Linked DNA regions of Homo sapiens: region 1 is linked to region 2. Evidence: promoter capture Hi-C in 16 types of primary human blood cells and fetal thymus (Javierre and others, 2016). All regions are on one chromosome and are shown on one strand. Each heading gives the region's core, a stretch centred on a gene start or on the middle of the fragment in contact. The rest is flanking DNA. Distances are from core to core; before and after follow the strand shown. Region 1 has its middle 57 kb from the start of NDNF-AS1. Region 2 holds the start of PRDM5 (PR/SET domain 5).

What was found. The method cuts DNA at HindIII sites, captures the fragments that hold promoters and counts their contacts. A CHiCAGO score of 5 or more calls a contact.
Region 1: a contact is called between a fragment that was not itself captured here and the fragment with the promoter of PRDM5 in region 2, in 1 of 17 cell types (naive CD8 T cells). The highest score is 5.0, in naive CD8 T cells.

Annotation. Positions count from the first base shown.
Region 1 is chr4:121,010,554-121,017,715 of GRCh38, reverse strand. No RefSeq gene overlaps it. Among named protein-coding and RNA genes, the nearest start is that of NDNF-AS1, 57 kb to the left of the region's middle. The HindIII fragment of the contact is 1,914 bases long and covers 1,576-3,489 here.
Region 2 is chr4:120,920,642-120,927,490 of GRCh38, reverse strand. It overlaps PRDM5 (PR/SET domain 5), which reads left to right and starts at 4,765. Exons shown (of 16, transcript NM_018699.4): 1 at 4,765-4,975. The coding sequence starts at 4,883. LOC105377399 (a long non-coding RNA gene) reads right to left here and starts at 4,555. Exons shown (of 2, transcript XR_001741804.2): 1 at 4,164-4,555; 2 at 1-723. The HindIII fragment of the contact is 4,297 bases long and covers 2,575-6,849 here.

The DNA.
Region 1 (7,162 bases), core at 1,283-3,782, 92 kb before region 2:
CGAGACTTTGTCTCTACTAAAAATAAAAAATATTACCAGGCTTGGTGGCACGTGCCTGTAGTCCCTGCTACTAAGGCGGCTGAGGTGGGAGGATTCACTGAGCCCTGGAAGTCAAGGCTGCAGGGAGCCATGATCATTCCACTGCACTCCAGCTTGGGTGATAGAGCAAGACCAAGACCCTGTCTCAAAAATTAAAAAAAAACAAAAAAACAAAACACTGCCAGAATGTAGCCCTGTTTTCCTGTTTTTGTTTTTGTTTTTGTTCTTTTGTTTTTTGTTTTTGTTTTTTTTTTTGTGCAGATCAGGAGACCATTATCACTGACTCTGAAGATGGGGCTTCTACATTGAAATGTAGACTTTCTTTCCCTCAGCAGTTTCTAGCATTGGCACAGCACAGAGAAGAACCTGGGGGCATGGGAGCAGAGCAGAGCTGCAGGTGGAACACAGCCACAGAACACTCGGTTAGGGTTGAGAGCCATGGCCTCACAGAACTATCTTGTTATAAAGTGTGCAGCAGCCAGAATTTTGCGAAGCATTCAGGAAGGAAGTAGATCCTTCTAATGAAATCAATATATGTTTAATCTTCTGTATATTGGCTACATGTGAGACATGCATCTTTACCATGAAAACAGAAATAAAGTTAGCACAGGCTTAAAGTCAGACAGCCTTAAATTCAAATGCTGGCTCTTCTACCTTCTAACAAGGCTACCTCGGGTAAGTTGCTTAATTAAGCAAAACAAGGCTCGGAAAGGTTAAGCAAGCTACTTGAATCACACAGCTGAGCTAAATGAACTTTGAACTCAAGTGGGACTCCAACCACTGGCTCTTTCCACTTCCCAAAGCTGCCGTCCTGTGCAGGAAGCCCTGAGAGACTGAGCTGTGTCATCCCACATGGTCAGCGTGTCCAGCTGCCTGTCCCCAGGAAAAGAATGTCCAGAGTGAGTAAACAGAGCTGCACCTTGCCACACCCCTAATTGGTGAACTGAAGTGCTTATTTCCTTTCCTCAACAAAAATGATTGTCTTTCATTCTGTGATGTGTCATAGAACAGGGATCCCCAACTTAAGGGTCACAGACCTGTACCGGTCCGTGGCCTGTTAGGAACCAGGCCACATAGCAGGAGGTGAGTTGTAGGCAAGAGGGCACTACCGCCAGAGCTCTGCCTCCTGTCAGATCAGCGGCGGCATTAGATTCTCAGAGCGCAAACCCTATTGTGAACTATGCATGCAAGTGATCTAGGTTGTGTGCTCCTTATGAGAATCTAATGCCTGAGAACAGTTTCATCCCGAAATCATCTTCCCCACCTCTGTAGGTGGAAACCAGTCCCTGGTGCCAAAAAGGTTGGGGACCGCTGTCATAGAACACTGAAGTCATGGGTCAAATGTAACACAATACTCATGGAAAAAAAAAGTAATAAAAGCTCAAGGTTATTGTCTAATCACAAAGACTGAAAATATTTTCTATTTGCTTTGGATTTGCATTATTATACTATTTTGAACCTATTTGAGATTGGTTTTTGGTTTACTTTATTGGTTGACACAGTAGTATTTCTAGTATCCAGGGATATATTTAAGCTTCTCATTAGTGAGCTGACTAATAAAAGCATGTTTTAGGTAATTTCAGTTTAACCATAACCTTCATGTAGAAAGGGGCAGGAGGAGAAAAAGATATAAGCCCTCCTGAAGTGAGAGAAAAAACTTTTGTTCAAAATATTCTATATAAGGTGAGCTGTACAGGAAACAAACAACAATATGAAATAACATTATATTCCTACAGTGAGTGATAGGGTCAGAAGAACACTTACTTTCATACATAGGGAAAATATACAGTGGGTTTTGAAGTCCTCCTGGGCTGGACTTCATCTTGCTTTCCCAGGTCTTGTGACTGGCAGTGTATGTGGAAGATTATTTTTCCATTTAATCAAGGGTCACATGTATCCACACACTTGTGGGAATTCATTTGCTATACTTAAGTTTGGGATCAGCACACTTAACCAAATTAAAGGCTCTATATTGCCCCTCATGTGTTGTTGTTGATTGCTTGGAAAACCAATATTTCCAGCCCATTTACTTCAAACTCATTCCTTCCAAGGTGTTATTTTGCATGGCCAGCACGCCTGTGTTACCCCTGGCACAGCTGTTGATTTCTCTGTAATTAAAATCCTTGTGGGGAGAGCAGAAAGCTGGCCTTTTACATCATTTTCTCATTAGTTTGGTTTTTAATTCCTATTGGATCATTGTTTAGGCTTGTCACAGGGAAACTTTCATTAGAGTCTTTTGGCTGCAATGCTGTTTTAACAGAGCAAATGGAATTTGAAAATCCAAACAAATATCTCTTCATCATTTTTGATGGATAAAAGAAAGATGCTGCTAAACAAAGCAGGCTGTAAAGGGTGTTATTTCAGCTGTAATTAATATTTGATCTCCAAGTTTAGGTAAATTCCCTATCATTTAAGACGTTTTCACAACTGTTAAGTCAAAATTTTAAGAGAGTCAGTTGAGTTTCCTACTAGGGGGGTGTAGAACCAAAGTGTCAGAAACTCAAGAATGTGGAGACCCCGTTTGTGTTGTTGACTTTCTTTCATTGATTATGACTGAGTGTTAGCCTTGATTGCAGACCTGGAGATACAAGTGGAAACTGCTATTTGATGGTCATTATAATCCTTCTGATTTTTGCTATTTTGAGCTCAGCTATCTCTTCCTAAATTCAACTTACCAGGCCATATTTGAATGCCTACTTAGATATATATGTGTGTGTGTCTATAAAATACAAATCTACATATCCACCTCTAAGTCTTCCTCTTTTATAGAGGCCCACTTCTAACTCTGGGTTTATATGTAACTGCTAAATCAAATGAAGAGAGTAAAGATAGCTGCTTCCCCTCATAATTCTGCTCTGGACTGACCTTTATCACCAAAGTATTTAGGGAAGCCTGGTACCAGGCTTCCACACACAGTGAGATTATACCAAGGAGCCATAAATAAACTCAAGGTTGCTGACATTATTGCAGACAGCAGGATCAAAAGAGGAAATTGCATTGAAACTAAACCTGATTTCAGATAAAAGAAAACCTTAGCCTTCAAATTTTTTCTTTTTGTTGACATTAGTTTTACTCAAGTTTCCTCTTACTCCGCCTTTGCCTACTTATAAACCAAAATGAAGTCCCATGGCTCTACAGGGTCTTGGAAAGCACATGCATTGTGAAACTGTAAAAATTCAATGACTTCCCTCTGACTACATCACAAAATAATCATGGAGAATTTATCACTTCGATAAAAGAAGAAAAAATGTATGTTAATAACAGTCTGTGCATCAGGAGCTTGCAAACTCTGCCCTTTAAACGTATTATCGAAACATTACACTCAACCATGGGCCAACTAAAAATGACTGTTTGCAATAGAGGGTAAATATTCCTCTTTGGGTTCTGCTTAATGTTATGACTTGAGCTTCTGTGATTAGTTTCTTTAACACATGCCTGTTCTGAGAAGCTTATGTAATGGTCCTGCTGTTTTGGTTCTAACTTATTAAAAACATTCTGTGACCCTCCACATTTGCAATATAGATAATGTGGGTGCCTTGAAACATGGGCTGTAAATCTGCAGTGTCATGAAACAGATGGTCTCAAATGATGAGAAATGAACAATATACCTTGTTGATTCAGAAACAAAATGAAAACCATCTCACCCCTCCACACCTAGTAATTCCTAGTAAGTAAAAAAACCACAGAGATGTAGAATATTATAGATAATTAATGCCAGAAGCGCTCTATCAGCTAATCCAGTCAACAGCCTCACTTTAAAGAGACAGACTCAGAGTGATGAAGTAGGTTGCTTAGGGTCACACAGCAAGTTACAGAGGCTCTTCCTAGATTCCTACTCAAAGTCCTTTTTTTCTACCATATTTCCTTTGTTTGGCTTCTCTATTCACTGACACAATGTCGAAATATGTTAGCAAACTTTGACCTGATAGTCATAATTATTTTTCAAGTGTTTATTTTTAATGATCAAAAGTGCAGGCAAATATAAGCTTCAGATTCAAATGGCAAAAGTGATGGTCAGAAGTATGTTCACTGCTACATTTTTCCAACTTGCATGAACATTGATCATTCAAAATACTTACGTAGAGTCTTACTTCAAAAATAACATTTACTCACTGGTAATAAAAACATTAAAAATAAGGATCGGCCTATTGTTTTTAGCTGCACTTAACACAGCCCATGCCTAATCAAAGGCCATTTTCTTTTGGAAAACAAATCTTGATCAACTCTAACCAAGGTGCTGAGGAGCGGTAATCATTAGTAACGACCTTGTGAAACTTATGAGGTACCTATTGTTTGCAGGCCTCTGGATGGAGCTAAAAACACTGCTTGCCAGAGCTAAAGGCAATAAAGACTAATAAATGCCAGAGCTGGTGCAGAAACAGAAATTCTACCTCCCTGCATCCTTTAAAGTAAGAACAAGTCACGAACAACAGAAAAGGAGAAGGGTGGCCTTATCAGAGAGGATGCTGATGATGGATTTTGTCACATGTGAAATAATTCAAAGGCCTTCCAGAGTAGCCAACACTTGCAGAGAAAAAGCAGGATGAAGCCAGCACAGGGCTCTTTGGGGGTGGGTGTGAGTCTTCTACATTACAAGTAGTGTTGATGGGAGCCATGAAATGGGACAGTGCTAGTTTCTTACACCATTGTAAACAGTCAGGAGCACAACTGCAAGGTTTTGTTGTTTGCTTCGCTTGTTTGTTTTTCTGCCTCTAAGATAGATGTTTGAGATTTCAAAGAATTGTGGATCAGGCCAGTCACAATGGCTCACGCCTATAATCCCAGCCCTTTAGGATGCCAAGGTTTTGGTCCAAGAGACCAGCCTAGTCAACAGAGCAAGACCCCATCTCTACAAAAAATAAGACAACTAGCCTGAAGTGGTGGTGCATGCCTATAGCCTCAGCTACTTGGGAAGCTGAGGTGGGAGGGCTGCTTGAGTGCAGGAGTTTGGGGCTGCAGTGAGCCACGATGGTGCCACTGCACTCCAGCCTGGGTGACAGAGCAAAACCCCATCTCTAAAAATAAAATAAAATAAGAATAGTTGGTCAAAACAGAATTGTAGCAAAAAGCCAAAGGCATGGGCTGCTCTAAAAGTAAGTATAAAGGTTTAAAGTGTAAAAGATATCTTCTTGTATCCTTCTAAATGAAGATATAAATCTAACTTGAAAGGAAAAGTTGAGAGTGAGACTTTTTATTGCTCTGGTCTTGAATTCTGGAGCTTGATTGTTAGAAGAGAAACACTGGAGTGACAATGCAACTTGGACCAAAAGAAAGAGAAAGGACGAGTTCAACTAAGTAAACATTTTAAAAATTCAACTACAGGAATATTCAGTATACAATAGAAAAATGACACTGATGTTATCTAACAATAAACTATTAAGTTTTCATTTCCTGTATCACTGGACACTCTGCTCCAGGGATCCATGGGACCTTATAAAGGAGACATACAGTGTTGAGAGACTTGACTATATTGGAATGATCACTAAGCTGGTTGGGCTGAACTGGGAGCCAAAAACCAGGAGGCCCTGCCCAGCTGTTGACCTCACTGGCTATGAGTGAAAGCCATTTAGCTTTCTAGGAGCTCTACTTTTTCAAATGTAAAATGGGGGATTGGGTTGGAGAATCCTTAATGTTCTTTCTACTGCTAAAACTCTATGACTCACAATGTAAGTAACTCCATACACTCTTTCCTTAGATGAGATAGCTCAATAATAATATTTGGTGAAAATGAAATAGCTGAACCAAAAAATAACATTGCATGCATTCAACAATATTTAAATCAAGAGAACGTAATTATGGCTTAAATTTAATTGAATTTTTTGGAAGTTGGACAGAATTTAGCAAATGCACTTTAAGTGGTGGTAAAAATGTAATACCTTCCCTAGATGATAAAAACTTTGACCATGAGTTTGATCCTAAAAATTCTTTTCTGTTTCTATTTAAACGAAAAAAAAGAGATTTTGCACATTTTATTCCTCATGTAAAACTAAAGGCACAATTTTACATTCAGATAGCTCTTCATACTTTTCAGCAATTCCAGTAGAAAGGATTTAAATATAGCATCCTTTAATACTTCTTACAGACACAGTAATAAAAAAATAATTTGACAATATTGTTCTTTACTTAGAAAAGCCCACAATAATTATACCTTATTATTATACCTCATATTTGTACAATGATTTACATTTCAGACTACTCACACACCCATGACTTTACTCAATTCTCACAGTAACCCTGTTAATAGGTATTGGATCCCTATATTTTAGGTGAGAATACTGAGGTTCAGTGACGTTGAGTGACTTCCTGAAGGTCACACAGCTGCAGGTATCAGTTAGGACAAAGCCCACATTTCTCTTGTCTAATCCAGGTCTGCTTCCGTTGCATTCTTCATGGAGTGCTATTGTCATGAGAATGTGAGCTCCACAGGGCAGGGAGTTTTGTCTCTTGCTCACTCCTCTATCCTTGCTGCCCAGATGAGTGTCTAGCTAAGTAGACACTCAATAAGAGTTTGTTGAATGGATTATTGGTTATTTTATTATTATAAAGGCAATACATATTTGCATAGATATTTTTTCAAAATGTATGCATTGAAATGATGTGCCAATATCCAACCAAACATAATCAGTATTATATTTTAATAAATTGGTTTGAATTTTCTTCACTATGCATCTTTTTTTTTAGATTTTAATTTTATGTTGTATTTTGTAGTGACAATGGGATATATGAGGCATATAGATGTATGTATCTACAGGTTCACTTTCACAAATCACACTACCAGTAAGTAATAGATCCAGGGTTTAAATGCGGTCAGTCTGCCTACAGAGTGCTTGCCAGGCAATGAAGGAAGAGCATGCCTGAGAATAAGGACAACCCAGAATGGGAAGCTAGGGATGAACAGAGAAGCAAGTTCTGCCAGCATTCTTTTACCCCATGTCCAGCTATTCCCAAAGACATTTCCACCCGTAGATAGGGTCACACATGTGTGACATATATTCTGGCTACTTATAGCTTCATTATCTCAACAGCAAAAGACCAGAAACAGCCCAGTAGTCTACCAACAGAGGACTAGTTAAAAGAAAAAGTATAAACTATTTGTACAATGGATCGACATGACCATTATAAA
Region 2 (6,849 bases), core at 3,516-6,015:
GCAGGGTTAGCCTGGAAGATCTCTGAAATGCTTGCAGGATCTTTTCCCATTGTCTTGATGAGTAGCACCTGGCTCCCTTTATTCATATTAACCTCTTTAACAAATGGTCACCATCCACACCCTTAGTGTTCTCTCCTGAACAGGCTTTTCAGTTTTTATCTGGCCAAGATGCAAATTTTCCAAATCTTTTCACTCTGCTTCCCTTTAAATTAGTTAATACCTTTGCTCTCATATCTCACTGCATGTAGTTAAAAGTAGCCAGACAGAAGTCTGAATGGCTCACTGCTTTGATATTTCTTCCACCATATATCCAAGTTCATCACTTTTAAGTTCTGCATTCCATAAAGTCTTAGGATATAGGCATAATTCAGCCAAGGTCTTTGCTATCTTATAACAAGAATGGTCTTTATTCCAGTTTCCAATACCTTGTTCCCCATTTTTGTCTGGAACTTGTCAGAATGACTGTTACTGTCTATATTTTTCTCAACATTTTTAGGAAGATTTAGACTTTCCTAATTCTGGGATCTTTTTCTAAGCCTTCATCAGAATTGTCCTTCATGGTCTGTTCATGGCAATATGTACCTTTTCTTGCTTGCTCCTCCAAATTCTTGTAGCCTCTACTCATTACCGAATTCCAAAGCTGCTTGCACAATTTCAAGTATTTGTAACAGAAATAACTCCACTTCTTGGTCCCAATTTTCTGTCTTAGTCTGTTCTCTTCTCCTATAACAGAATACCACAGATTGGTTAAATTATAAAGAAAAGAAATTTGGGGCCAGGCATGGTGACTCATGCTTATAATCCCAGAACTTTGGAAGGCTGAGACTGGAGGATCACTCAAAGCCAGGCGTTTGAGACCAGCCTGGGAAACAAAGTGAGACTCCATCTATACCAATGAAATAAATAAAATAAAATAAAATAAAATAAAATAAAATAAAATAAAATAAAATAAAATAAGATAATTAGCTGAGCACAGTCATATGCACCTATAGTCCCAGCTACTTGGAAGACTGAGGCTGGAGGATTGTGAAGCCAGGAGTTGGAGGCTGCAGAGAGCTATGATCATACCACTGCACTCCAGCCTGCAGACCGAGCAAGACCTAGTTTCTAGTCTTGAAAAAAAGAAAAAAATTATTTGGCTCATGGTTCTGGTGTCTGGGAAGTTCAAGAGCCTACCACTGGCATCTGGCAAGGGTTATTTCTTGGCAGAAGGACAGAAGACAGAAGCAAGCTCTAGAGACACAGAGAGGAAATGGGGTTAAGCTTGCTTTTATAACAACCCACTTTCTAGATAACTAACGCTCTCCTGTGGTAATGACATTAATTCATTCACGACGGCTCTGCCTTCATGACCAATTACCTCTTGTTAGGCCTTGCCTCCCAACACTGTTGCTTTGGGAATTAAATTTCCTACACGTTAACTTTTGAGGGACACATCCAAACTGTAGCATAATGTTACTCAATTTAGTCACAACAACCTTCAGTTTTCTTCTAGTTAAAATTTATGATTCTTTTTTGGTACCACATACAAGTGTATGGTACCTTTCCAAAACTCAAGACATTAAGAAAAATTTAGTGTTCACACTTTTTTAGGTTTCAGGGACATCTTTTCATGGTGCTGTTGCTATTGTAGAATCAATGCTGAGGATAGATGTTTTAAGAGCAAGAATCTGACACCGTTACTCTCCATTTTATTTTAACAAACTTTTTTTTTTTAATCACACCAACTAAATCTTTATTCTTTTCTGCTCTGGAAACTTGGTTTTATATTCAATTATTACAAAAGCCCTCTGGTTCTCTGATAACTGAAGACAAATATGTTTCAGGTTATTATTATTTTTTTTCTATCAATCAGGCTTTTAGTCTACCATGGTGCTTGGAATCAGTCATCAATAACCAAGGCACAATTAAAAGAGTTCGACAGTATGTATAAATACTGACAGTATGGTAAAATAATTAATTAATATACAGTCATAATTCAAGTCTTCCCTAAAAACAAGGCCCACTCAAGTACATACGTTTAAATGCAATAACTAGAGCTTGCTTTAGACATATCAATGAAAAAGATTCCTCCAAAAGCAAATCTGAAAGTAAGGAACAATGTATTTTGAATAATTTCTTGTTTGTCAAGACAGTGCAATATTTTCTAGAATAAGTAAATCAGGTGCATGGTAGTACTTTAATATCAATTTTTTTGATTTTGTTATTTATTTTTTAAAGACTGGATTTAAACTCCTGATATAAAGCAGACTTTTAATTTCCCGTTTTTCAAAGATAATATTGAAAGGTCGCTTTCTAGCTTTTAAAGTTTTAAGAAATGACTCATTGTACTATCACTGTCTTACAGGCTTCAAAATCAAATATCCGGTCAATACTGTGCATTTTGATTTGGCAAACATGTATCCTTTTTGTGTGTTGTAATGGAACTTATTATTAAGAACTTTTTATTGCTAGTTCCTATGTTTTAGTTAGTAGATCTTCAGAACACTCCATTAAATAGATAAAAAAGAACATTGCATGCTTTAATGAAATACACTGAATGTGTCAATTGTAACAAAAATATCTGACCAAGCTTCATAAAATATCTGGAAAGTTTCTCATCTTATTGATTTCAGATTTATCTTTAAAATTTTATTTATATACTTTCACCATTTTCTAATTAGTAAAGAAGCCTACATTCAGAGAGGGGCATTCTCAAGGCTGCAGCCTTGCTCCCCAGAAAGACAGCATGCAACCAAATATTTGAGAGATATGCCTAAATAAGGATCCCTAAATAAGGATTGTTTCAGACTAAAACCAAAAAACGTTTTCCTCTCCAGCGATCAAAAGCTGTGGAAATTCTCGTGCCCAAAGAGACAGTGGCAGAGCATTTGACTGAGAGCCCTGGATGGCTTAAGGGTGGCTGGAAGCCTGTGTTTGACAAAGAGCTGAATGCTCCAGGAAAATGCCAGGGCCCCACCTTCTGGACTGTGGGCCCAGTGGATCTGGTCTGGCATGGTTTCAGCCCTGGTTCTAAGGAACCCTGGAAAACCTACTTAGTCCAGTTCCTTGTGAAGCACAACAAAAAGTCAAGTAAATTCTAGGCTCACCATAGAATTTTTGAACATCTCAGATCAGCCTCAGAAGTGACTTTCATTCAAGACATATTTAATGAACACCTACTATTTTTCAAGGCCATGGAACTCCCAATTCCCCCAAAAGAGAGTTTTTGTTTTTATTGATTTATTTTCCCCTAGAGAAGTTAGAGATCTTCCATGGGAAGTCAAAGGTATCAAAACTCACAGAGTGGCTAAGTGTTCCTCTCCCTGCTGTGAAAGCTAAACTTACATTTCTTAGAAAGAGGATCATGTCATCATTTACTGTGTTCCTTAAAGTCTCCGAATATTGCCACTACATGATTTTTTTTTCCCATAATGCCTTTTGTTCTTGTTTTTTAAACCTTTTTCCAAACTTGAATCAAAATCTACATAGGGGCCGGGTGTGGTAGCTCAAGTGTGTAATCCCAGCACTTCAGGAGGCCAACGCCGCCGGAGGATCCCTTAAGCCCAGGAGTTCAAGATCAACCTGGGAGACATAGCTAGACCCTGTCAAAAAAAAAAAAAAAAAAAAATCTGCTTAGGAACTATGTTCCAAGGGTTTCCTGCAGAAACAGGAATCGTTTCCATGGTGTGTGTGTGTAGTCTGTAATTTTGTCAAACTTTTGTGTGTGCTTTTAATGGTTTATGAGAACATCAATTAAGAACATCAAATGGTTTCCGAGAAAAGACCCTAGAGTAGAAAATTACCATAAATATCAAGAGAAATGAGTAGATGACCCCAGGATCACTTTGAAGGATGAAACAGGCTTTTAAAGGTCCTGGGCACACTGCACAGCCTAACAGCTTATTAAAAACACTAAAACAAGACTTGTGACTTTATTGCATTGTTGTGACACCAGATGCTATTGTTTGGGTGTCCCCTCCTGTCTCCCACAAATCCACTTCCGTATGTCTGAAAATCCGTAATACGTCTAATGATTATCAAGCAAGGGAGGTCTCAGGAATATTGTACCTTGAGAAGTATAAGAACTTCCCAGAGGTTATGTTACCATAAAATATCTAGTTTCTAGTGCTTAAAACATTAAATTGTTTGCAACATATTTTTCCGTACGTTAATCAACATACTTTGCGATCCCTTATTAAGTTCTAGCCTCTGCAACAAACGTGAAAAAAAGCAAAGACGCATAACTCAAATGTGAGAAGCACGGAAATTTCCTAGACCGCAGGGTTCGTTCTCAGTAGTCGGCAATAAGCTGGCTTTCAGAGTCAGGAACTTGATAAAGTTGTTTTGGAGGATGCCCCAGCTGTGTGAAGGTCCATTTCGTTTTGCATCTGAAGAGAAGCAAGCGAGACTCCCCTACAGGGAGTAATGGTTCAGCGGGGCAAGGTTTGAAAACCCAGAGCTGGACAAAGGCGGGAACGCACGCCGCCGCGCCGGGGCTAGGGGTGCTGACGGCCCGCGCAGCTCGCGGGCCTCCGGGTTTGAGGCCCTGGGGTCAGCCCTGCTCCGGGCTTCGCGCCCGGGCGCGGGTCAGAGCCGCCAACTTCGGGCCAATCAGCGAGCGGCGTCCCGGCGCCCGCAGCGCCCAGGCCCGCGCCCCCCGCGCCCCCGCAGCAGGAATGGCAGGAACGGATCCGGGCCGAGCCCGACCCGGGACGAGGAGGGGCTGAGCCGCGGGGGATCCTGGAATCGGCAGGGAGGTGGGGATTCTGGGAGGAAAACTCCATTTCCTCCTTCCCTGCCGGTTTCTCCCCTCTACCCTGGCACCCCAAATTTCGATGTGCCGCCTGCCGGGCGCTAAGCGCCGGTGTTGAGAGAGGCGGCGGCCGCCGCGCCCGGGAAAATGCTGGGCATGTACGTGCCGGACAGGTTCTCCCTGAAGTCCTCCCGGGTTCAGGACGGCATGGGGCTCTACACGGCCCGCAGAGTGCGAAAGGTGGGTGACCCGGCGGCGGCCTGCGCGCCCCTGCACCTCGCGCGCCCTGTGCCTCCCGGAGTCGCCCTGCCGCAGGGCCCGGGGCGCGGCGGGCTTCACCCCGGTCGCCCCTCGCCCGGGCCGGGCCAGGCGTCCGTGGGAAGGCCGGGGACCGCGGGGCACGGCGGGGGTGGCCTTTACTCGCTGCGCCACCCGAGCAGGCAGCGCCACGTAGGTGGCGGCGGGGTGCGCTCCGCTGCCGGCCGGTCCAGGGGCGGAACTGCCACCGGCCTCCCTGCCGCAAGATGTCTTTCCTCTCTCCCGCAGGAAGTGAGCGCGGCGGGAGCCTCCCTCTTCCTCGGTTACGGGTGTGAGCTGCGTCTTTGCGTTGGCGAAGGCACGCGTGGGCGGGTGTTTTCCCCCGCGCGCACGCTGCTCCGCTGTCGCCTCTTTTCCTTTAGGATGAATTAATGTGGCTAGAAACGCCTAACTTTCCATGCGGGGATGGGAGGAGCAGCCCAGAGCGCCGCTCCACGCAGGCCGTAGAATCTCATTCATACGCCCAGGATTTCCTTCCCTCCTTCTGGAATGTATTATATGTGCCTTCAGGGAGGTGCCAACCAGATGATCTTTGAGTGTCTATACCTTTTTTCTCCGCTCTTTTTTTTTTTAATTTGTCTCCAACATCGGTTCGATCTCTCCAGCCAGAAAGTTACAGGCATGTGATGAGAGGAAGCACATTGCTCAGTTCGTACAGGAAGGGCCTGAAAGTGTTGGATGTTGAAAGCAAAGGCCTAGGAAGAGAGGCCACAGGAAAAGTCCAGCTCTTTGGATTTGATCTTATAATATTATAACTTGTTAGAGTCGTCCTAGCCGTCCTCGCCCCCTTTTCTTAGTAGATATTTTGTAAGATGGAGGTTTGGGCAAGAACAGGCTTGTTCAGGTAAGGTATGTTAACAAGAGGTTCAGAGGATGCAGTAGAGACACTAGGGTGCCTTTCATCTGCATATAACCCTCTCCCCTTTGCCTCTGACCTAAAGAGCTGGTGAAGAGTAGTAGAAAGTGCTAGTAATCCCCAAAAAGGGCTCCACTGACAACATGATCTCCAGTCATCCTTCAGGGCAAAATTGGAGAAAATAAACCACTTATTTATTTTTTCAAGTGGGAGTTGGCGAGAATGTTCAAATGTTAAAAACAGGAATAAATAATTTATCTGAATTAGAGGTGTATTGAATAGTTGCCAAATGGCCAAATGTTAAAATCAACATTTTTTGAAGGCCAAATACAACCATCACCAAATGACGTCTGTACAGAGTTGAAATTCTCCTTTTAATTCATTCTTAAAAGATGTGAAAAATTCTCAAACAGACCTTCCTTAAAGGTTTCTGGCTTAAATTTAATTACTTTAAAAATTAAACACAGATCTTAAAAATCATTTTATTTAATGTTATGAAGAGTACTGTAAACAACTCTGCAAAGATTAGAATTATTATATAATCCTTGTTGTTTCCTTATATTACCATATAGATTTTTAGAAACAGCTGGCCAACCTACTTTCTTTTGAGATTTTTATTAATTTCAGTTTATTTTTTTCATGTGTTTGATTCTTTGTAAGTATTTTATTTTTGGGCATGCAATGAAATGAACAGCTTCCAAAATCATCATATATTATTGCATCACTTTACTATTGCAATGATAAATGCTTATCTTTTCCTGGCCAGTTTAACTTTAATAAATAAAACACATACAGATTTTCATCCAGATCATATTTAGAATGCTTCGCTGTATTTCAAAGTGAATGTGCAGATGTTTGCTATGAATCCAAACTATTATCGATGTTTAGTTATGATCCCAAAATATTCAGTCACAAGGTCATGGACAGGTTTGTTGATCTC